Regions from separate parts of the Homo sapiens genome. Here regions 2, 3, 4, 5, 6 and 7 are each linked to region 1. Evidence: promoter capture Hi-C in 16 types of primary human blood cells and fetal thymus (Javierre and others, 2016). All regions are on one chromosome and are shown on one strand. The core of a region is centred on a gene start or on the middle of the fragment in contact, and the rest is flanking DNA. Distances in the headings are between cores, read along the strand shown.

Region 1 (3,319 bases), core at 206-2,705:
AACAGGTATTCAGCCAGGCGAAGTGACTCACGCTTGTAATCCCAGCACTTTGGGAGGCAAAGGCAGGAGGATCGCTTGGGCCCAAGAGTTTGAGACCAGCCTGGGCAGCATGGTGAAACCCAGTCTCTACAAAAAATACCAAAAATTAGCTGGGTGTGGTGACGTGTCTGTGGTCCCAGCCATTCGGGTGGCTGAGGTGGGAGGATTGCTTGGGCCCGGGAGGTCGAACCATGTTCACACCATGGCATTCCAGCCTGGATGACAGAATGAGACCCTGTTTCTAATAATAACAGTAATAATAATAATAAAATACATACTCACTAGCTATGACTCTGCTTTACAGGATAATTGGGGCAAAAATGTTCTTGGGTGAAACTGGGTAACCTAATTTGAAAGGTCTGGGAAACATGGCCCAATTTCAGCCTCGCTCGCCACTCACAGGCCAAGTGGAGGTTGCGGTTCATAACATACTGGACACTAGACATCACTAATGCCTTCATTCTACAAATGGGAAAACCATGGCTGAGAGGTCACCTGATCTCCCAAGTTCACTCAGAGACGTGGGGATGGGCCGAGCTCCAGAGCCTGGGCCTTGCCCTGCTCCACCCCATACAGCACGAAGTTCCCTGGCCAACTAAGGAAGGAGTGCAAGGTGACTGAAGAAAACAAAAACAAACAGAACTGACACAAAAAACAAACAAACAAAACTGAGTGCCAAAGAAGGAGAATTTGGGGGCTGAGGCTGTGGCTGCAGAGTGGGAGTGGGGATAATCAACGCTGGGCTCCTGAGTGTCTCTGGAAGGGCGGGCCCTGGTGTCCAGAGCGCCTGGTGCCCACCTTCCCCTTTCCCCCAGGGCCCCTGTCTGAGAGCTCTTCTACCCACTCCTGGCTGCTGGGGCACCTGATATTTTCCAAAACACAATTTTCACACCCTTAATAGTGGGCTGCGGAGGAGTCAGGATCAGAGCCTCTAGCTCAGATTTCCTTCCCTGAAAGGATACGGTCTTAGAAACTGCATGCTGTGCAGAGTCCTATCATTCAGAAGAAACACAAAACCCAAGCCCTGGGGAGTCACGTGGCCACCACGGATGCCCCGGCCTCGGACTAAGCTAAGGGCATTAGCCCGGGTGGCCTGTAGCTGCTCTGCAGCTCTGATCAGTCCTACAGACACATGGCACCCCCCACCTGTCACCTTTAGGACCCTCCAGTCAGGCCCCCTTAAGATGCAGTGTTCCCCATGCTCACCTTTGAGGCTTACTCTGCTGCTAAGGAAACAGCATGCAACTTCCCAGGGTTATGAGAAATAATTTTCCTAGGAATGTCACCAGCTGCAGACGCCCCTGTCATAAACTGTCCCAGCTCTAAGCCGCCTAGGGCTTTTATCCCCTCCTCTTAGCTACTCATTACCCAGCTTAATTAGGCCAGGAAATGCTGGCGCTGAAGACACTCTCGGCAGGAGGCAGGGCTGGAGGAGAGATTCTCAGCAGCGCCACTTCCTGAGGCTTGATCTGGGGGCTGGGGAAGGCTGTGGAGGAGGTCGGCTGGGGATGGCAGGCTGCGTCCTCCAGTGAACAGCTGCTGGGAACGAAGCAGGGATGCACGCATTTGCTCCCCAGGCCCTCCAGGGAGCTGAGGGTTGCACTTGTTTACGGTAACAGCACCGGATCTGAAGGCCTTGGAAGGCTCTGCCTGCCCCCACCCCAACCCTCCCATCTCAATTAACCAGCTTCACCACCCCACCCCCACTCTTTCCTAGGGAAGAGGTTGAAACCTCAGTTACCACTCACAATATTTCAGCCCCAACCCTGACATAATCACAGTCAAAGACCCAGCCTGAGATGCCTTCCATTTTCAGCCAGCCCCTGACCTTCACCCTGAACCACCTTGGTCATGCACAACCTCCTGGTTCTTCACTAGGTGGAACACAGGAATGGGGTTGCCTGCTATAGAGCTGTATGTGCTTCACCCAGTTTTGGAGCTTTCTGCTCCAGTGGCGTTGGAAGGGGAGTAGCAATGTTGAGGGTTCATAGAATGGGGTTTATATCAGACAGATGGGGGTCTAGACTGTAGCTCTGCCCCAGGTCATTCTGTGACCTTGAATATGCTATTTCATTTTTCTGCACCTAAGTTTCTTTAGCTGCAAAAATGGGGGTGCTAATATCGGCTTCTTGGGAGGTTGAGATGATCTTATATCCTTATAGTAGACACAGGCAAATGTTCAGTAAGAAGTGGCCGGTATCTCCGATGTGGGGCACTAGTTCAGAGGCCTGCAGTTACCAACTTTTCTTTGCTGGGAGGTATGGAAAGGGGAAAACTAGTATTAATGAGATCCCGCTATCTGTGGAAGGTATTCATACTTACACGATTTTCCTTTCATTTCCCAATTATCTGTGGAGGCTTTGAGATTTAAATGAGTAAACTGAGGCTCGGAGAGGGTAGGAGGGTGAGTCATGCCTCATGAGTGGCAGAGCAGATCATACAACAGGGCTACGGCAGATGCCCAGGGCTGCTGAGTCTGGGACTGCTTCGTGGCCTGGAAATGTCAGAATGACACCAGTCTAGGCCAGGCGCAGTGGCTCAGGTCTGTAGTCCCAGGACTTGGGGAGGCCGAGGTGGGCGGATCACTTGAGGTCAGGAGTTCGAAACCAGCCTGGCCAATATGGTGAAACCCGTCTCTACTAAAAATTCAAAAATTAGCCAGTTGTGTTGTTGGGCGCCTATAGTCCCAGTACTCAGGAGCCTGAGGCACAAGAATCGCTTGGACCCGGAAGGCAGAGGCTGCAGTGAGCTGAGATCAAACCATTGCATTCCAGCCTGGGCGTCAGAGCGAGACTTATCTCAAACAAACAAACAAACAAAAGAATCACACCAGCCTAGAGCGAGTAGGATGACTAGAATCTCAGCAGCCACAGCACCAGGTGGATCATCGCCCTGGAGAGGGGAATATGAGGGCTGAGTCACAGTGTCATCCAAAAAGGACTTGTCAGCCTCTGCAGAGGCTGCCTCTCACCTGCGGAACACGTACCCACTGTGCTGTAAGTCCTGGAGCAATTTGCTTCAGCCTTCTCAGGTGTATGGTTTTATGCCTTGGCTTTTCCATTGTGTCCACATTTTCTCAGAAAATGCAAACTTCTTGAGAAGTGACCTCATTTCCCTCACCTGCAGCAAGACAAACGTAATTCTTGGCACTCAGATATGCAATAGTGCTGTGATTTTAACTTTTCTATGTAACTGTAACTTTGAAAAGTACTCTCCCATTCCACCAAGCAAAAAAAGAAAAAAAAAAAAAAGCCCCAGGGCAGGGGTGGAGGGATTGGGG
Region 2 (3,319 bases), core at 604-3,103, 210 kb before region 1:
ATTGATTAACTGAAAAATAATTGAAATCCCGGAAAGAAACCATTACATTTAAAGTCAATTGATTTGACAAAGGGGTCAAGAAACTTCATTTGGAAAGGAATAGTCTTTTCTTTTTTTGTTGTTTTTCATTTTGTAGAGACACATGTCTCACCATGTTGCCCAAGCTTATCTTAAACTCCTGGAGTCAAGCAATACTCCTGCCTTGGTCTCCCAAAGTGCTGGGATTACAGGTATGATCCACTATGTCCAACCATGAATAGTCTTTTCAACAAATGGTGGTGGGGCAATTGGATATTCATGTGCAAATAAATTAATTTGGGTCTCTGCCTAACACCATACACAAAAATTAACTGAAAATGGATCACAGACCTAAATGTAAAAACTAAAACTATAAAACTCTTAGAAAAAAACACAGGAGTAAATCCTTGTGATCTTGTGTAAGGCACTGATGTCTTAGATGCAATGTCAAAAGCACAGTTCAAGACCAGCTGGGGCTAAATAATGAGACCTGGAAAAGGAGGAAAGGGAAAAAGTGAGAAAATGAAAAATGGCAAATTGAACATCAGCCAAATTTAAAACTTTGGCACATCAAAAGATACAATCAAAAAAGGGAAAGACAGCCCACAGAATGAGAGAAAATATTTATAAATCATATGTCTAATAAGTGATATATCCAGAAGAACTCTTACAACTCAATATTAAAAGACAATCCAGCTTAAAAATGGGAAAAGAACATGAATAGACATTTCTCCAAAGATGATATATTAATGTCCAATAAGCACATTAAAAAGTGTTTAACATCAGTCACTAGGAAAATGCAAATCAATCCACAATGGGATGTCGCTTTACACCCACTAGAATGAATACAACCAATCAAGACAGATAACGCCAAGTGCTGGAGAGGAGGTGGAGAAATCGAAACCCTCATACACTGCCAGTGGGAATATAAAATGGTGCAGCCACTTTTTTGGAAGATAGTATGTCAGTTTCTTAAAATGTTAAAAATAAAACTGCTTTAAACCCAGCAACTTTACTTCTAGGTATCTACCCAGGGAAAATAAAAATGTATGTCGACACAAAGACTTGTATGTGAATATTCACAACACCATTCACAAGAATCGAAAGGTGGAGACAACTCAAATGCCCATCTACTGACAAAGGGATTAAAATGTGGGATATACAAAGGAATACTACTCAACAATCAAAAGGAAGTTCTGAGGCACACTACCACAGTGGTCACCCTCAACAACACAATGCTTCATGAAAGAAGCCAGATGCAAAACAACACACATTGCATGATTCAGTTTATATGAAATGTCCAGGACAGCCTCGTATAGGGACAGAAAGCAGATTACTGGTTGTCGAGGGCTGGGAATAAGACTGAAAAGTGACTCTGATAGGCACAAGTTTCTTTCTTGGGATGACAAAATGTTCTAAAACTAGATTTCGGTGATGGTTACATAATTCCATAAATATACTAAATATACTAAAAATCGTTGAATTGGACCAGGCACAGTGGCTCACACCTGTAATCCCAGCACTTTGGGAGGCCAAGGCAAGAGGATCACTTGAGCCCAGGAGTTCAAGACCTGTCTGGGAAACATAGAGACTCCATCTCTACAAATAGTTTTTTTAAAATTAAACAGGTGTGGTGGCACAAGCCTGTAGTCTCAACTACTCAAGAAGCTGAGGCAGGAGGATCACCTGATCCCAGGAGGTTGAGGGTGCAGTGAGCCATGATAGCACCATTATGCTCCAGCCTTGGTATCAGAGTGAGATCTTGTCTCTCACACACACACACAAAAATCATTGAATTGTACACTTAAAATAGGTGAATTTTAGTATGTAAATTAGACCTCTATAAAGCTGTTAATTTTCTTAAGGTTTTTTTTTTTTCTTTTTTCTTTTTTTTTTTTTTGAGACAGAGTTTTGCTCTTATTTCCCAGGCTGGAGTGCAATGGCACGATCTCAGCTCACTGAAACCTTCGCCTCCCAGGTTCAAGCGATTCTCCTGCCTCAGACTCCCAAGTAGCTGGGATTACAGGCTCCTGCCATGAAGCCCAGCTAATTTTTTGTATTTTTAGTACAGACAGGGTTTCACCATGTTAGCCAGGCTGGTCTCGAACTCCTGACCTCAGGTGATCCACACACCTCAGCCTCCCAAAGTGCTGGGATTACAGGCGTGAGCCACTGCACCAGGCAATTTTTTTAAGTTTTAAAATTACAATATTTACCCCTAGCACCAAGATTGTCTCAAAATACCACTAAAAGAAAACAAGCCTTCCTGGAGAGAGTGCTGATTCCAGGTCTAGGCCAGAAATGTATAAGATAAGCCTGGAACACTGTCACTCTGGATAGCAAGGAATCTATCAAAGATTAGGATGCTTTCAACACGTCTGAAGAGCCAATCTGAAGGGACTCCTTCTAACCAAAGATAGGACATTTTATACATTAATAAGGATAATAATTGCAGTGGATTGAAATACATCAAATGTGTTTGAATGTCTGCATTCATAATGATTCTTTATAAAAAATAAAAGTGGGTTGGCCAGCCACAAGGGCTCATGCCTGTAATCCCAGCACTTAGGGAGGCCAAGGCAGGAAGATCACCCGAGGTCAGGAGTTCGCAACCAGCCTGGCCAACCTGGTGAAACCGCATCTCTACTAAAAGTACAAAATTAGCTGGGTGTAATGGTGCATGCCTGTAATCCCAGCTACTCAGGAGGGTGAGGCAGGAGAATCACTTGAACCCAGGAGGTGGAGGTTGCAGTAAGCCGAGACCTCGCCATTGCGCTCCAGCCTGGGCAACAGAGCAAGACTCCATCTCAAAAAAAAAGAATAAATAAATAAATAAATGTGGGCTGGGGACAGTGGCTCATGCCTTTGGGAGGCCGAGGCAGGAGAATCACTTCAGCCCAGGAGTTCAAGACCAGCCTGGACAACACAGGGGGACCCTGTCTCTACAAAAAATGTTTTAAATTACTCAGGCTTAAGGGCCCATGTCTGTGGTCCCAGGTACTCAGGAGGCTGAGATGGGAGGATTGCCTGAGCACAGAAGTTTGAGGCTGTGGTGGCATGATTGTCCCACTGCATGCCAGCCTGAGCAACAGAGCTAGACCGTCCCTGTCTAAATAAATAAACAAATAAAAGTAGTCACCATCAAAGGATATAAATGAAGCAGACCATCATTTTGAAAAATGGTAAACAAAAAGAACAAATCAAGCCACTAACTGGCCTTTTCTATATAAATTGTACAACTGGGTAGCACAATAATTTATAAGAAGCTGCATCTCTTTTTTATATTTACTTTTTTTTCTTC
Region 3 (3,319 bases), core at 240-2,739, 200 kb after region 1:
CTGAAAGAGCTATCAAGAGTCAGTGGGTGTAGAGCAGAAAGGGAAGCAAGAGCAGGGAAAAGAAGAGGTCCAAGGGGTGGTTCTCCAGCAGTAGAGTTGGAGGGCTAGGGTGAGGAAAACAGCAAAGATGGAAAAGAAATAGCAGTGCGGTGGTGGGTGGGTGTGTCCTGAAAGCCAGAGAAGAAATTATTTTAAGATAGAATCAACTTAAATGCTGCTTTTAAACTTAGTATGATGGAGGCTGAGAACCATTTGTTAAATTTGGCTTGGTTGCAGTACAATGGTGGGAATGAAAATTTGTTTGCATCACTAATACTGGCATTAAGATTTTGTATAGAAGTTTTTGTTACCATCTCTGAGGCTTCAGTCATTTTAATGAAGTTTCACTAGTGAACTGCTTCATCAGTTGAGACAGGTAATTGCTTAGGCAGGAATTTCTTCTCTTTAGGCCAACTGATGAAATTTCTTACTAGTATCAAGTTTAAAAAGGTGTCCACATAATTAAAAGAAAACTCCTAGTTCTTAAATTGTCAAAGAAGTGGCCATATTCTCCCTGCTGCTTATCTCTGACGAGTAGGGGTTTGACAGAGGGCATCTTTGCTCTGCCACCCCTCACTGTCTTGGCCCAATTCAGTTAATATTGGCAGCTACCAACATTTGTTATGCTTATTACATTTTTAAGGAATAAAAGTCTTTTTTTTCTTTTGAGGCAAGGTCTCTCTCTTCTCTGCTTGGTCGTTCAGACTGGAGTACAGCGGCATGCTCATAGCTCACTGCAGCCACAAACTCCTGGGCTCCAGCAGTCCTCCCTCTGCAGCCTCCTGAATAGCTTGGACTGCAGGCACGCACCACCATACCTAGCTAATTAAAAAAATTTCTTTGTAGAGATGAGATCTCACAAAGTTGCCAGGCTGGTCTTAAACTCCTCGACTCAAGCAGTCCTCCCACTTCAGTCCCCCAAAGCACTAGGATTACATCCATGAGCCATTGTGCCCAGTCCAGAACTTCCTTTTGAAGGAAAGTATTGATGTGCAGTTTTCGAGAGCACGTCAGCCTCTCTATTAAGTTTTTCAATGTACTTCTGATAGTATTTTCTGAAAATTTTTCTAAGTCACAATTTCTAATTCACTTGACAGTTGGGTATTTGACCTATAGGTAGGTGCACATTCATGATCATTAAAACATCAATATTTAAATTTTTTTTTTTTTTTTTGAGACGAAGTCTCGCTTTGTCGCCCAGGCTGGAGTGCAGTGGCGCGATCTCAGCTCACTGCAAGCCCCGCCTCCTGGGTTCACGCCATTCTCCTGCCTCAGCCTCCCGAGCAGCTGGGACTACAGGCGCCCACCACCACGCCCGGCTAAGTTTTTGTATTTTTAGTAAAGACGGGGTTTCACCGTGTTAGCCAGGATGGTCTTGATCTCCTGACCTCGTGATCCGCCCGCCTCGGCCTCCCAAAGTGCCGGGATTACAGGTGTGAGCCACTGCACCTGGCCAAATATTTCTATTTAAACTGTTTTTGTGTTTTATTTTGTTTTTTGTTTTTTTGAGACCTAGTCTCACTCTGTCTCCCAGGCTGGAGTACAGTGGCACAGTCTTGGCTTGCTGCAATCTCCACCTCCTGAGTTCAAGTGATTCTCATGCCTCAGCCTCCCTAGTAGCTGGGATTACAGGCATTCACCACCTGTTTTTTTCCTTTTTTTGAGACAGAGTCTTGCTCTGTCACCCAGGCTGGAATGCAGTAGTGCATTCTTGGCTCACTGCAACTTCCACCTCCTGGGTTCAAACGATTCTCCTGGCTCAACCTCCTGAGTAGCTGGGATTACAGGTGCGTGCCACCATGCCTGGCTAATTTTTGTATTTTTAGTAGAGACGGGGTTTCACCGTCTTGGCCAGGCTGGTCATGAACTCCTGACCTCGTGATCCCCCCGCCTCAGCCTCCCAAAGTGCCAGGATTACAGGCGTGAGCCATCACGCCCAGCCTAATTTTTGTATTCTTAGTAGAGACAGGGTTTTGCCATGTTGGTCAGGCAGGTCTTGAACTCCTGTCCTCAAGCAATCCACCTACCTCGTCCTCCCAAATTGCTGGGATTACAGGCATGAGCCACTGCACCCTGCCTAAAGTGATTTTAATAATGAGAATACAACACGTGTTATTGAATCCTCAGAGCATTTATTGAACATGGTAAAGTAACTACCCCCCGCTCCTTTATTTATTTATTTATTTATATTATTATTTTGAGACAGAGTCTTGCGCCATCACGCAGGCTGGAGCGCAGTGGTATGATCTCGTCGGCTCACTGCAACCTCCGCCTCCAGGGTTTAAATTTTTAGTAGAGACAGGGTTTCGCTATGTTGGCCAGGCTGGTCTTGAACTCCTGGTCTCCCAAAGTGGGAATACAGACATGAGCCAGAGCGCCTGGCCTTCCGCTCCTTTTAAAATGGATTCAATCAAGTGACCTCTGTAAAAATCCATAACCTGTATTGATTGAGGTTGGTTTCAGGCTATTTATTGTCGTTTCCCTCATTTCTTTAAGCAAATTTCTGTTACTCAAAATTAAAACAATTGAATGAGCATCTTAGAAGAAACTTTCTAAGCATTTGGATTCAAGGTAACTCTATTTTGTGAGAGAGAATTACACTGAAAACCCTTTATGTCAGCCCATAGTTTAGTTATCTGTAAAATGATGCCATTAATACCTACTTTGAAGAGTTTTGTGCAGAGTAAATAAGCCAAAGAATGGAAACCTGGTATCTGTCCCCAAGATGGTAACCACTATTGTTACTTAAAACCTTGCCTTTTTTTTTTTTTTGAGAAGGAGTCTTGCTCTGTTGCTCAGGCTGGAGTGCAGTGGCACTATCTCAGCTCACTTCAGCCTGCACCTCCCGGGTTCAAGCAATTCTCCTGCCTCAGCCTCCTGAGTAGATGGGATTACAGGCGCGTGCCACCATGCCTGGCTAATTTTTGTATTTTTAGTAGAGACAGGGTTTCACATGTTGGTCAGGCTGGTCTCGAACTCCTGACCTTGTGATCCTCCCGCCCCGGCCTTCCAAAGTGCAGGAATTACAGGCGTGAGCCACTGCACTTGGCCAAAACCTTTCATTTTTTTCCTTTACATTCAGTGTTTCTCTCTTCCTCGTTCCCGTATGTGCTTTTGCATGGCTATGCTGCAGTAACAAGCAGTCCTAGAAGCTCAGTACTTAGCAGCCACAGAAACATCGGGGGAGTGTTCATAAAGTTTTTCCAGATCAGCTGTTGACTCTGCGCTTTCTGTCTTCCTTCCGCTGTCTAGATTAAAGGAGCAGTTCCTATTTGGGATA
Region 4 (3,319 bases), core at 302-2,801, 200 kb before region 1:
GTTGTAAGGATTAAACAAGACAACCAGGACCTGGCATTTGGTCGGTGCTCAGCAAATACTGGGTTCCTCTCCTCCCCTGTCACCTGGGCTTCAGGTTTCCTGAGCTTATCTGCAAACCTGTGCTGAACAAACAGAGCTACAGCCTGAGTGGCTAAAAAACATGAAGAGAGGACAAGAATGTGATGTGTGGGAGGCAGAGGAAAGGGTCATGGCCACGCAAAACTCTACTCAGAATTGCAAGGGGGTTCCTCTGCTGCCCCTTCGAGCCCCCACACTGAAACTGGCTTTTCTGCTATTTTTAAGATTTGTTAAGTCAGGCCTGCTTTGCATGGGAGCTCCACCTCCACAATAGCCACTTTCTCCTTGGGATCTGACTTGGATCCCCACCTCAGCATTGTCAAAGGCCCCGTGGAGCCTCTGAAGCTCTCCCTCCTGTGGCCTTTTGAGTCTAGTGCCTGTGCTGTGCATGGCTCATCACGCTCCATAAGTATTTGTGAAATCAAAATGTCTCCTTCTTGCCCAACACACACCCATGGCTCCTCACAGCCCAACTCCCCTGCTGTAACCCATCAGCCAATCCAGTCACATTAGACCTCTTGCATCCCCTGAAAAAACTCTATGCCTTTCCTTTGCCTAAAATGCCCTTCTCCCCCTTCACCCACTGTCTCATTCCTCAGGACCCTTCTCAAAAGTCACTCCATCAAAAAGCCTTTCAGATTCCAGCAAACACAAGGGAACTTCCGCTTATCCCCATTCCTCAAATCACTTTGATTGTGAATTAATTAATTAATTAATTAATTTATTTATTTATTTTGAGACGGAGTCTTACTCTGCTGCTCAGGCTGGAGTGCAGTGGCATGATCTCAGCTCACTGCAACCTCCACCTCTAGGGTTCAACAGCTAATTATTGTATTTTTAGTAGAGATGGGATTTCACCATGTTGCCCAGTCTGGTCTCAAACTTCTGACCTCAGGTGATCCAGCCACCTTGGCCTCCCAAAGTGCTGGGATTACAGGCATGAGCCACCACACCCAGCCTGAAAATTTTTAAGTTTTTAACCTTAGCAGCTAACAGCAGAGTTCTTTAAAAGGTATTTAACATCTGTTTTTGGAAGATATGTTAATGAAATTGGATAACTGGGTTTCCTGGGCACGTCAAACCATAGTCATCAACATAATGTACCCTACCTTCTCATCAAAGTCCTAATAAGACAAGCTTTCGTTTCTTTATGACAGAACCACCCTAAGCGTTTAAATTCCTTACCCAGAACTTAAGTCTTAATTTAAAATTTTCATAAATCAAATTATTTGGAAAAATCTCAATACTGATTACAAAATAATCAAATTATTTTACACATTTAAAAATATTCGAATCTATTATCATTCAACTTTTTTAATATTTCAAAATAAGTCACAAGATGAATATCAAATCCTCTTAACTATTTCAAATTAATATCACAATCATAATATGCCAGATTCTCTAACATGACATTCTCCAAAATATTTCAGATGCCTTAAGAAACAAATAATACATACAAATTACCATGATGATTTCAGTTTTTTTCTAAACCTAATGCAAAGTAGTAATATCACGGATTTGGTAGACATTTTTCTTATCACAATGCTTATTTCTACACCTTCACAGCATTTTCCTATGCTTACCACTTTAAGGAGATCAGAATTACTGTCTCAGTTTGGCTGGGGCTGCTCAGTCCAAAATTTGGAACTGAGATGAGTTACAGATTTCAGTTTAGTTAGAGTTTCTGAATTGCATCAGAACAGCTGGGTCTACTTCCAGAGTGGTCCCTCCTGAGGTTTATTTTGACTCATGGTTCTACAGGTTGTAAGGGAAGCATGGCACCAGCATCTGCTTCTGATGAGGGCCTCAGGAAGCTTCCCATCATGGCATATGGCAAAGAGGGAGCAAGCAAATCATGGTGAGAAAGGAAGCAAGAGTGAGCGGGAGGAAATGCCAGGCTCTTTTGATCAGCCGGATCTCGCATGAAGTCATAGAGTGAGAACTCATTCATTACTGCAGGACAACACCAAGTCATTTGTGAAGATTCCATCCCCGTGACCCAAACACCTCCGGGTAGGCCCACCTCCAACACTGGAGGTCACATTTCAACATGAGATTTGGAGGGGACAAACATCTAAACCATATCAAGATTTTTCATTTATTTGTCTAAATTGATTCCTATGTATTTCATATTTTTGTAGCTATTGTAAATGAGATTGCTTTCTTGATTTCTTTTTTCAGATTATTCACCATTGACATATATAAATGCTACTAATTTCTGTATGTTGAGTTTGTATCCAGCAACTTACTGAATTAGTTTACCAGTTCTAGCAGTTTTTTGGTGGAGTCTTTAGGTTTTTCTAAGTGTAAGTTCATGTCATCTGTGAACAAGGCTATGATTTCTTTCTTTCCAATTTTAGTACTCTTTATTTTTTTCCCTTGCCTAATTGCTCTTCCAGGACTTCCAATATTATGTTAAATAAAAGTGGTGAAAAGTGAGCATCCTTGTCTTATTCCAGATGTTAGAAGAAAGGTTTTCAATATACAATGTTAGCTGTGTGTTTGTCATCTACGGCCTATGTTATTTTGAGGTATGTTTCTTCTATACCCAGTTTGCTGAGGATTTTTACTATAAAGGTATGTTGAATTTTATTGGATGATTTTTCAATATCTATTGAAATGGTCATATGGCTTCTGTTCTTGGTTCTGTTAATGTGATGTATCACATTTATTGATTTGCGTATGTTGAATCATCCTTGAATTCCTGGGATGAATTTTACTTGATCATGGTGAATTATTTTTTAACATGTTGTTGAAGTTCACTAGTATTTTGTTGAGAATTTTTGCATCTATGTTTATGCTTGATATTGGCCTGTGGTTTTCTTTTTTGTGTGTATTTATCTGGTTTTGGTATCAGAGTAATGCTGACTTTCTAGAATAAGTTTAGAAGTATTCCCTCCTCTTCAATTTTTTGAAGCACTTTCTTGAATATAATTAGTATTATTTCTTTTTTTTTTTTTTTGAGACAGAGTCTCACTCCATCGCCCAGGCTGGAGTGCAACGGCGCCATCTGGGCTCACTGCAACCTCCACCTCCTGGGTTCTAGGGATTCTCATGCCTCAGCCTCCTGAGTAGCTGGGACTACAGACATCCACCACCACACCCAGCTAATTTTTGCATTTTTAGTAGAGACAGGGTTTCAACATGGTGGCCAGGCTGGCCTTGAACTCCTGACCTGAAGTGATCCACTTGCCTCAGCCTCCCAAAATGCTGGGATTACAGGTGTGAGCCACTGTGCCTG
Region 5 (3,319 bases), core at 468-2,967, 170 kb before region 1:
TAAAATCCTTAGAATCTCCAAAATTGTATCTTTTATATACTAATGATTCATTGGTGGCTGGCAGCCTCTAGGCAGCTTCAGGATGGGGGCTGGTCCCGGGAAGCAAGTTAGGATTAGAGGGCTGGGACGTTTAGCCCCACCCCTTTACCCATCACATCTGGGAAGGGGAGAGGGAACTGAAGGCCCCCTGAAGTTGCAATGGCCAGTGGTTTAATCAGTCATGCTCACATGAAGCCTCCATAAAAACGGGGTTCAGAGAGCTTCCAGGTAGTGGAACATGTGGAGGTTCCTGGAGGGTGGCACACCTGAGGAGGGCATGGAAGCTTTGTACTCCTTCTCCTATACCTCACCTTTTCTTCTGTATTATTTGTGATATCCTTAAAATAAACTGGGAAATGTGTTTCCCTGAGTTCTCTGAGCAGCTTTAGCAAATTAATTGAACTGAAAGAGAGGAGCATGAGAATCTCACGTTGAACCCGGTTGGTCTTAGAAGTTCTGGAGGCCCAGACTTACCACTGGTGTCTAGGGGGTGGGCGGTCTTGGGGACTGAGCACTCAACCTGTGGGATCTGATGCTATCTCCAAATAGTGTCAGAATTAAATTGGAGGATACCCAGCTGGTGTCTGCTGCCGAATTGATTGCTTGCTTGGTGGTGGGAAGAAACCACCCCCCGCCAATATGTAGTCACAGAAGTCTTCTGTGACTTCTGTTGATTGTTGTGGTGATGTGAGGGCAGAGGAAAAATACAGCTTGAGTTTTTCCACACTCTCGGGGAATATGTGTCCTTCTCTTCCAGAATATTTTCTTTCTTTCCTTTTTTAAAAAATAACTTCTTCCTTCTGTTTTTTTGTTAATCTCCTTCTAGAAATCTAGTCAATCATATTTTGTTTCCTAAATTGAATCTCTAATGATCATATATTTTTTCCTATTCTATTTGTGCTTTCAGAGAAATGTCCTCAATTTCATAGACTAACCCTTCTATTGAATTTTTATTTAGTAGAACTTCTATTGAGTTTCAAGGTTCAGTTTTCATTCTCTGCCTGCTCATTTGTCCATGGTGTCCTGCCCCTGTCTTACAGATGCAGTGTTGTATCTCTTCGGGGCTATAATAATTTTACTTGTTTGGTTTAATTGTGTTAACAGCATTGTTTTTTTTTTCCTTCCAGGAGCATTTTTTAATTGTTTTGATCTATTTTTCATACAGAAAACCTATCTCAAATATCTGGTACTCCTTGGCTGTCTGAGAATATTTTAAGAATGAAGTCCTAAAAGCTGATTAAATGCTCTGTGTAGTTAAGGTTTATTGAACATTGGACTTCACTGTATAGGAGGTCAAGCTAATCGTGAACCTGGCCTATTGGGTGACCTCCAAATGCTGAAATCTGGAGGTGTTTTTTTTGGGCCTGGCTGCCAGCATTCTGAGATCAGAGCACGGAAAGAGAGGATAAGGTTCCCAACACTCCATATGTAGACCTTCACTTAATTCTCCCTGCCCCTAAGCCCTGAACGTTATAAGGTTCTGAGGGGCCCCTGGCCTCCTTATCAATAACTCCCTTTTGTAGCATTCAGACAGAAGTTCCTCCACTCAGCACAAGCCAGCTGCCTACTCTGCTGCCACTTGGACAGTTATTTATTTATTCATTCATTTGTTCATTTTTGAGGTTTTATAATTTTATTTGACATCAACAGTTTGTTCTCATCCACAATGTCTGACTGTCAGTTTCTGAAAGTGGTAATGGGTACACAGGTAACCAAAGTATAGAGCTTGCTTGGTGAATCTTCATCCTCATGCTTTCTGGACAGCTGCACATGGACACAGTATGGAACGTTCCTTATTCCTTTGGTCCAGACAGCTTTGTTGAGCCTGGTGTTAGCATATCTGGAGTCCCCATCTCCTTCATGGCAAAGTTCTGGGACTTTTTGAGTGACCAAGGGGCACACTGCTTGACGTCCCCTCCATGGGTGTGCTTGTGGATGCTGATGGCATATTCTGGTGTCACCACCTCATTGGTGGCAGGTGACAGAATAGCCCTTTTATTTTATTTTATCTTACTTTATTTTATTTTATTTTATTTTATTTAGACAGAGTCTCGCTCTGTCGCCCAGGATAGAGTACAGTGGCACAGTCTTGGCTCACTGAAGCCTCTGCCTCCCAGGTTCAAGCAATTCTCCCACCTCAGCCTCTCAAATAGCTGGGACTACAGGCACATGCCACCACACCCAGCTAATTTTTGTATTTTTAGTAGAGACAGGGTTTCACCATCTCTTGGCCAGGCTGGTCTTAAACTCCTGACTTCAGGTGATCCACCTACCTCAGCCTCCCAAAAGTGCTGGGATTACACGCATGAGCCACTGCGCCCAGCCAACACTCTTCTTTACAGGAGCTATGCTGCTGGGGCCAAGTTGGAAAGGACTTTTAAAATTTTGTTCACATCTTTTGTCCACTGAGTTTGGCTCTTTGAGTTTGAGAATTTACAAAAAAAAATGTTCTTTCCTATAATTGTTATATTGTTTGGAGAGAGGGAGAAAATATGTGTATATGGTCAATGCGCTATTACCTCTAATAGAATTGTTATTCTATATTTCACCTATATGTATATTTTTCAGTTTTGATTAAATCTTTTTTCCCCTTATCTTCCCTCATGCCATCTCCTCTGCTTGTGTGCCCTTTGCCCCCAGCAAACTGTGTTAACACCTGTTAACATGTTTCTATTCTCATTTAGTCATACACACACTCTCTCTCTCTCTCTCTCTCTCTCTCTCTCTCTCTATATATATATATATATATATATATATTCAGGGAGATCTTTTTCATGACTTATTTCCATAGAAATTGGGATCATACTATAAAAAGTTATTTGAAACTTATTTTCCTCTCTCATCAACACATTCCAGCCATCTGCAGGTCAACAGATGTCTATGCAACTAATTCTCATTCTCTTTAATATTTGCATAATATTCCATAGTAGATAGCAATCTATTCAACCATTTCTAGTTTGATGGACATTTAGATTTAAACTAGATCTCACCTTAATTCAGCCATTCTCTATTGATGACCATTCAGTACCACAGAAAAAGAGGGAAAGCTGTCCATTTTTTTTAAAGCTAGTATAAGCTTAATTCTAAAACTTGACAAATCTTATACAAAAAGAAAAACTATGGACCAATCTCATTTATGAACATAAATCCATGCAATTCTAAATAAAATATTAGCAAATGTAATCTAGCAGAATATCAAAAGAACAATGCACCATAATCTAGTGGTGCATTAACAAACTTTGTTTGTTAATCAGTGCTGGAGAGGTATATGATGAGGTTC
Region 6 (3,319 bases), core at 225-2,724, 150 kb after region 1:
TTGCATCCTCCTCATTAATGCTCTGAATGATAAAATGGGCAAAACCAAATAGGGTATGTTGGTTAGGATTTTGGTCCCACAATCTAGGCTATAGGAGTTCAAATCTTGATCATACTGTTATTATTATATTGTTATTTTGAGACAGAGTCTTGCTCTGGTCGCCCAGACTGGAGTACAGTGGCACTGTCTTGGGTTCAAGCAATTCCCATGCCTCAGCCTCCCTAGTAGCCGGGATTACAGGCACGTGCCATCATGCCCAGCTAATTTTTGTATTTTTAGTAGAGACACGGTTTCATGATGTTGGCCGAGCTGGTCTGGAACTGCTGGCCTCAAGTGATCTGCCTGCCTCAGTCTCCCAAAGTGCTGGGATTACAGGTGCGACCCACCACGCCTGGCATTGATCATACTATTATAGATGGATCATGGTTCTTCCAATTTGGAACCTTAGATTGTGTCAGTAGCTTTACTTTTTCTCTTTCTAAATAAATAAAGCACCATTGGATACCAAATGTGCACATTTATGATTATTTCCATATAGTAACTCCTTAAAAGTGTCACAGTATGAATCTTTTTAAAGTCTCTTGATACGTATATCACATCAACATTGTCAGATTCTTTTTTTTTTTTTTTTACGACAAAGGGACTTTAAAAAAAATCTAAGAATTTAACTTTATCACATACAGTGGTAGATGTTTTACCCTCGTTAATTCTTGAAGAAACTTATTTTTTGATTGCCTTTACTCCATGCGTTTCAGAAGTTTCTGTTGTAGGCATTTGAATAGAAATGGCATTTAGATAAATTTAAATGTAGGCCTACCAACAACCATTGAGTGGCACTATCTTTATAACAACTTAAAAAGCTGTACTTAGTGAAACTAATATTAATCACTGTCAAGTTTTGACAAGTCTTGTAAAAAGGGAGAAAAAATAATTAGGTTAAAGGTGTTATTGCTACGATTTCTGCTTAGGATGAAAAGTAAAATTGTGGCTCTCTGGAATTTACTTGGAAGCAGATCTTCTGGATAGCTGAGATTTCCATATAATGGAGTTTACTACAGTTTACTACTTGTGGCCTGAAAAAAAATTTTTTTTAAATTGATACAGGATCTCGCTATGTTGCCTCAGGCTGCCCTCCAACTCATAGCCTCAAGCCATTCACACGAGCAGCTGGGACTATAGGCAGCATTCCACAACACCCAGTCTGGCCTCTTATTTTATTTTAGTATTTTTTTGAGACAGACCCTTGTTTTTTCAGCCAGGCTGGAGTGCAGTAGCGTGATCTTGGCTCACTGCAACCTCTGCCTCCCGGGTTCAAGGGATTCTCATGCCTCAGCCTCCCTAGTAGCTGGGACTATAGACACGTGCCACCATGCCCGGCTAATTTTTTTGTATTTTTAGTAGAGACAGGATTTCACCATGTTGGTCAGGCTGGTCCTGAACTCCTGACCTCAAGTGATCCACCTGCCTTGGCCTCCCAAAGTGCTGATACTACAGGTGTGAGTCACTGTGCCCGGCCCTCAATTTTAAATTTTCCGCTTTTGAGAAGAATCTTGATAGAACGTATTATACTTCTTAGCCTTAAAAAAAAACATAAAAACCAATCATCTTTGAGGTATAATTTGTATACAATTAATTACACAGATTGTAAGTATACAGTTGAGTTTTGACAGCTGTATACAAGTGTATAACCACCACCCCCCAAAAAATATAAATCATTTTCATTCCCCAAGAAAGTTCTCTCATGCTGCGTGCAGTCAAATCTGCCCCACCACACATACCCTGCCCCAGGCAATGGCTGATCTGATTTCTCTCACTACAGATAAATTTGTCTGTCCTGGAAAATAAGTGCAATCATAACATATGCCGTTTTACTTGTCCTTCCCAGGCTAATGTATGGGATATACTTTTATCTAGTCCCAGTAATTGTGCATCCTCAAGCCTATGTGTTACTGCACTGCGCTGTAGCTTAGTGGTTCATTTTCGTTCTGTTGAGCTGTGTCTGTCTTTGCCCGGAACTGTAGTAGCCCCACAGGTACTGGGAGAGGGAGGTTTCTATTGCACCTCTTGTCAGAAACCAACTCCCTTTTACTTGTATCCGTTCACATACTTTCCTAATAGTTTTCTGTTTCTGTTATAATTAGCTGTGAGCTGTGCAATCATGTAACTAACTTTGTTTAAGTATTGTTTAGTCTTTCTGGTCTCCAGATGAGCTATATAAAAATGAGGTTAGGTCAGTCTCGCTGTGTGCCAGACACTCGCGAGGGGCAGCTCCTCTAGTGCCCGGCGTCAGACATGGCGGAGGCGATGGATTTGGGCAAAGACCCCAATGGACCCATCCATTCCTCGACTCTGTTGGAGAGAGGGAGGACGGGAGAGGGAGGACAGCAGCTCTGTGTTCTTCCACGTGGGGCCCAGCCCGGCCGAGCTCATCCTGCAGGGTGACCGCACTGTCAGGTCCAGGAGCCCGGGAGGCGCGGGCCGAAGCCCTGGGCCACTTCATTTCCACAGGTACATCCTGGACTGGTGGAGCCAGCGAGAGGCTGGAGCTGGAGCCTATCGGCTGGGCCCCGCCTCGCCTCAGGGGACACTGCTCGGAGACAAAGCCCGGGGCCCTGGCCAAGGGCACCGCGGAGGCGCCTTCCCAGACGCGGATGACGTGGCTGTCCTGACTGACGGGAAGGAAAATGGCTGCTCGCCCAGCTCCATCACCAGCAGCGGCTTGTGGACAACTCGCCCACGCATCCCTGGTGGCGGTCCCTGAAGCCCCCGCGGGGTCAGGAGCACGAGCACTTGCCAGGGGACGCCTGGGGCGCCCCTCCTCCCAGAAGCTCCCGCGGAAGACTGGAGCAGGCCACCTGGCTGCGGATAATGGGAACCACAGAGTGAGAGAACTCCACATCGGCCTGAAGGAAGAGCATGTGAAGGTAGAAATCCAGGAGAGTGAAGAAGCACTGTAAAAGATGCTTGCAGAAGCCACCTGGGGATTGGAGGAGGTTGTGGTGGATGAGAGCCCTGATTTGGAAATACATTTAACAATGTGTGATGAGGATCCCCCACGCCTGAGGAAGACTCAGAAACAGAGCCTCATCAGGAAGAGGAAGAGGAGGAAGAAGAAGAAGAAGAAGAGGAAGAGGAAGAGGAAGAGGAGGAGGAGGAGGAGGAAGAAAAGAAGAAGAAGAAGAAACAGTTTCTCCACTGGAGGTGGGAGCTGCCATTATGATGATTCCGCAGTTAATGGAGAAGTTTAACTTGGATCTATCAACAGTTACACAGGCCTTCCTAAAAAATAGTGGCGAGCTGGAGCTAGAGAGCTGATGGA
Region 7 (3,319 bases), core at 589-3,088, 150 kb before region 1:
CTCACCAGTGTCATGGGATTCTCTCAGAAGATGAAAACAGCCCCTGCTTTTTTGCTAGAATGGCTGAGCTTTCATGGAAAGGAAGCTGGACCCAAGCAACAGCCGACTACCGAAGGTTGCCTGGAGCAGTGCAGATGTGGGAGGAAGAAGGGCCTTGGTGCACACTGGCTTTTCTTCCTGACTGCAATGTGGCATTGTGCCAGCTACCTCCTCTTTCTCGGCCTCAGGAAAATGGAGAGAAAGCAGCCCTGAAGGTGGCTGTGACGAGGGAAGGGGCAGAGGGCCTGACAGTCAACCACGCGCTATATTTTCCTGTTCTTCCTTAGGGCAAGAACTGCATGGCCAGACTCAGGCAAGGCCTAGGTGTGGGCTGGGCATTGCCTACACGTGAAGAGATCACTCCGCGTCCCTACTGCACCTGTCACAAAGTGCCTTCTGATATGCCTGGCAAACCAAAATCGGTGAGCGCCAGCTTGCTTCCCTAGAAGACATTTCTAAATATTCATAACATGCTTGCTCAAATCAATCACCTTATTTTACATCCGCTCCAGGGAGAAATGAAGACATGGTCCTACGTTGTTCTGTAATTATTTTCTATGTAAATTTTGTTCCTTGTTACAATTATATATGTCTTAGGGGAAAGGACCATTTCACATGTGTCACCTCATGTGATTCTCACCACAGCCCTGTGATTGCTCCTGTTTTATAAATAATGACATAGTTCCAGTTGATGGCCAAAGCCACAGCTAACGAGAGGCAGAGAGAGCTCAGGCTCCCAGGAGCTTCCACTCTCAGACCTTGCCTCCCGGGCTGCCCTGAGTGAAACGCCTGCTTAGCATTTGGCACAGCCAGAAGCAGCAAGCTAGGGTCACAACACAGAGAGGGGCTGTGTAATACTGGCTGCCTCTGTGCTAAGAAAAAAAAAAAATCACTGTGTGTTTGTTTATTTTGGTGCAGGCCCAGTGTTCTTGCTTAGACTTAATACTACCCTTCATGTTAAAATAAAACCAAACAAAAACCCATGGCCTTGTTCTTCTTATTCATACGTAAGAATTTGTGCTTCTGGCTGGGGCAAGAGTGATAGAGGAGGGCACAGTATTTAAAAATTAGTTTCTCAAGATGTTCCCCCTTTGGAAAGCTACTCTTTTAGAAAGAAATGGGAAGCCGGGCGTGGTGGCACACTTCTGTAGTCCCAGCTACTTGGGAGGCTGAGGCAGGAGGATTGTTTGAGCCCAGGAGGTTGAGGCTGCAGTGAACTATGATGGCGCCACTGCACTCCAGCCCAGGTGACAGAGTGAGACCCTGTCTCAAAAACAAAGAAAAAGAAAGAAGGAAGGAAAGAAAAGTGAGAGAGAGCCGAGGGTGATGAGAAAAAATCGTTCTCAGGCTGAGTCCATTAGAGCTGAGCTGGCTGTGCCAACAAAGCATGTCAAGACACTCACCAGCTCCAGGCCACAGCTTCACTGCCTCCCTGAAAAACATGCCAACTGCCTAGAAGGGCCAAGGTGTACCCATAATGTTAACACAAACTTATAAAATAATGGCGAATGTCACAGTGACATTTAAGAATTTTGTAAGGAAACCAGGACAGAAAAGATCTTAAAACAAACCACACAGGAAGCTTGTCACAAGTCTCAAGTTTTTTATTTTCAGAACAGAGTCTGGTTTTATTTTTAAAAAGAGAAGGAAAAAAGTGATAAATGCTAGTGAGGTGCCACTTCCCTCCTTCTTCCAGGCTCTAACCGCCAGCTAGCTCTCTTTCACAAAACCCACGGATGCAGAATCAGGACATGTTAAAATGGAACAGTCTTTAGAGAGGGTCTAGTCTTTTTAAAATAAGTAAGGATTTGGGGACTAACAGAGAGGAAGCCCCTGACTTGCTGAATTGTTAGGAGCAGGCGGTTCTCGAGATTCTGAGCCCAGGATCCTTTTCTGTGAACCATGCACGTGCTGGCACTGGCCTCAGGAGACAGTGCCCTGCCTTGGCTGTCAGGTCCACGGAGAAATCTCAGGTTTGCCCCTTCACTAGGGATGCCCTAGAAAGCAAGGGCAAAGGAAGCTTTAGGGGTCATCGTGACTGGGGCAGGGGAAGTGAGTGCAAGGACTCAAGAAAAACACAGCAGAGGAAGGGACTGACCCTCTGAGCACACAGTGGTTGACCCACATGTGTAAAAGAGGGTGACTGGGGCTGAACTGGGGGCCTGATATCTGCCAGAATTGGCCAAGTTGCCATCAGCTTCTTGACATATCCAGGGAAGTGGCAGCTCATTGGAACTTATCACAGCCTCCCACCAAAAACCTAACAAACAGTACAGAGATTTTACAGTCAGGGAGGCCCAGCAGGAGATGGCCATCCAAACAATAGAAGGGGGGCAGATCAGGGGGCCAGCCAGCGGCTGGCCATGGCTCAGACACAATGTCCTTTCACAGTCACTGAGATTAGGTAGCAGAGAAACACAGCAAAGCTGGAGAGAGGACATGGGAACAGCGAGCAGCTGTTGGTACCCACCCAGGGCCCAGGCCCCAGAACCTTGAGTACAATCAAAGGGAGAGGAGAGGAGTCAGTGGGGGCAGGGGAAGAAGGCAGAAAAAAATACCAATTAAGTGTGAAATCCAGCCAGCTATTGGGCCACATAGGGTGAGGGACTGGAAGCACAGATTGTGCATGGAGTGTAAACATTTTCCCCCGCTGTTCCCTGCTCTGAGAGCATGAGGAGGCTCAAGAGAACTCTGGTCAAGCCTTCTGCCCCTCTTATGTCTGTCTACAAGGGTGTCTTCTGCTCCAAGCCCCCAAAACAGTTGTAAGAGGGGGCTTCAAGTGGGAGGCGGGGGCTTGGCCTGGGTGCTGAGTTAACGGCCAGTGACTTGGCACTTCTGACCCTCCCTGTGCACTCTGCAGCTGTGCCAGGCCCTGCCCCACACCCAGCCCAGGCACCCAAGCCCTCCCTCCGGCCTTCTCTGCTGGGGCTTCACACACCCAGTACAGAGCAGGGAATGTTCTGCAAGTGCAGCCTGGCTGGCTTCTCTCCCAGCCACCTTTACAGGGAGCATCAGGACCAGGGCTTTCAAGAGCCACAAACTCAAAAGAATGTGAGAGCTGAAATTACCTTCAACCTTAGAGATCACTCATCTAACTTCTACTTTTTTAATGTGAGAAAACAGGCCCAGGAAATAAAAATATGTCACTCAAAGCCAATGAGTGACAGAATCAGAACTAGAATCCACATCTTCTGGTAACTCGTCTAGAGTTTGTTACACTACATAAAACTTCCCAAACGTAAGAAGGGAGAAGGGGAAACAAAAATTCTTCAAGTTTCAC

The links. The method cuts DNA at HindIII sites, captures the fragments that hold promoters and counts their contacts. A CHiCAGO score of 5 or more calls a contact.
Region 2: a contact is called between a fragment that was not itself captured here and the fragment with the promoter of CECR3 in region 1, in 1 of 17 cell types (activated CD4 T cells). The highest score is 5.4, in activated CD4 T cells.
Region 3: a contact is called between a fragment that was not itself captured here and the fragment with the promoter of CECR3 in region 1, in 6 of 17 cell types (M2 macrophages, M1 macrophages, endothelial precursors and 3 more). The highest score is 11.9, in M2 macrophages.
Region 4: a fragment that was not itself captured here is called in contact with the fragment with the promoter of CECR3 in region 1 in 10 of 17 cell types (M2 macrophages, non-activated CD4 T cells, total CD8 T cells and 7 more); the score reaches 8.8 in M2 macrophages.
Region 5: a contact is called between a fragment that was not itself captured here and the fragment with the promoter of CECR3 in region 1, in 2 of 17 cell types (M2 macrophages and non-activated CD4 T cells). The highest score is 5.6, in M2 macrophages.
Region 6: a fragment that was not itself captured here is called in contact with the fragment with the promoter of CECR3 in region 1 in 1 of 17 cell types (M2 macrophages); the score reaches 8.0 in M2 macrophages.
Region 7: a fragment that was not itself captured here is called in contact with the fragment with the promoter of CECR3 in region 1 in 2 of 17 cell types (non-activated CD4 T cells and M2 macrophages); the score reaches 5.8 in non-activated CD4 T cells.

The regions. Positions count from the first base shown.
Region 1 is chr22:17,265,278-17,268,596 of GRCh38, forward strand. CECR3 (cat eye syndrome chromosome region, candidate 3) reads right to left here and starts at 1,456. Exons shown (of 3, transcript NR_038398.2): 1 at 1,246-1,456. The HindIII fragment of the contact is 21,393 bases long and covers 1-3,319 here.
Region 2 is chr22:17,050,717-17,054,035 of GRCh38, forward strand. All of the region lies in intron 3 of CECR7 (cat eye syndrome chromosome region, candidate 7), which reads left to right. Among named protein-coding and RNA genes, the nearest start is that of CECR7, 16 kb to the left of the region's middle. The HindIII fragment of the contact is 3,382 bases long and covers 163-3,319 here.
Region 3 is chr22:17,463,802-17,467,120 of GRCh38, forward strand. All of the region lies in intron 1 of CECR2 (CECR2 histone acetyl-lysine reader), which reads left to right. Among named protein-coding and RNA genes, the nearest start is that of CECR2, 96 kb to the left of the region's middle. RefSeq lists an enhancer at 1,566-2,324. The HindIII fragment of the contact is 3,741 bases long and covers 1-3,319 here.
Region 4 is chr22:17,068,159-17,071,477 of GRCh38, forward strand. No RefSeq gene overlaps it. Among named protein-coding and RNA genes, the nearest start is that of IL17RA, 15 kb to the right of the region's middle. The HindIII fragment of the contact is 677 bases long and covers 1,214-1,890 here.
Region 5 is chr22:17,091,923-17,095,241 of GRCh38, forward strand. The region is part of intron 1 of IL17RA (interleukin 17 receptor A); the gene reads left to right. It also overlaps the pseudogene RPL31P62. Among named protein-coding and RNA genes, the nearest start is that of IL17RA, 8.6 kb to the left of the region's middle. The HindIII fragment of the contact is 2,792 bases long and covers 322-3,113 here.
Region 6 is chr22:17,416,405-17,419,723 of GRCh38, forward strand. The region is part of intron 1 of CECR2 (CECR2 histone acetyl-lysine reader); the gene reads left to right. It also overlaps the pseudogene TERF2IPP1. Among named protein-coding and RNA genes, the nearest start is that of CECR2, 49 kb to the left of the region's middle. The HindIII fragment of the contact is 5,330 bases long and covers 1-3,319 here.
Region 7 is chr22:17,114,672-17,117,990 of GRCh38, forward strand. It overlaps IL17RA (interleukin 17 receptor A), which reads left to right. Exons shown (of 13, transcript NM_014339.7): 13 at 1-1,022. It overlaps TMEM121B (transmembrane protein 121B), which reads right to left. Exons shown (of 1, transcript NM_031890.4): 1 at 1,626-3,319. Among named protein-coding and RNA genes, the nearest start is that of TMEM121B, 5.0 kb to the right of the region's middle. The HindIII fragment of the contact is 438 bases long and covers 1,620-2,057 here.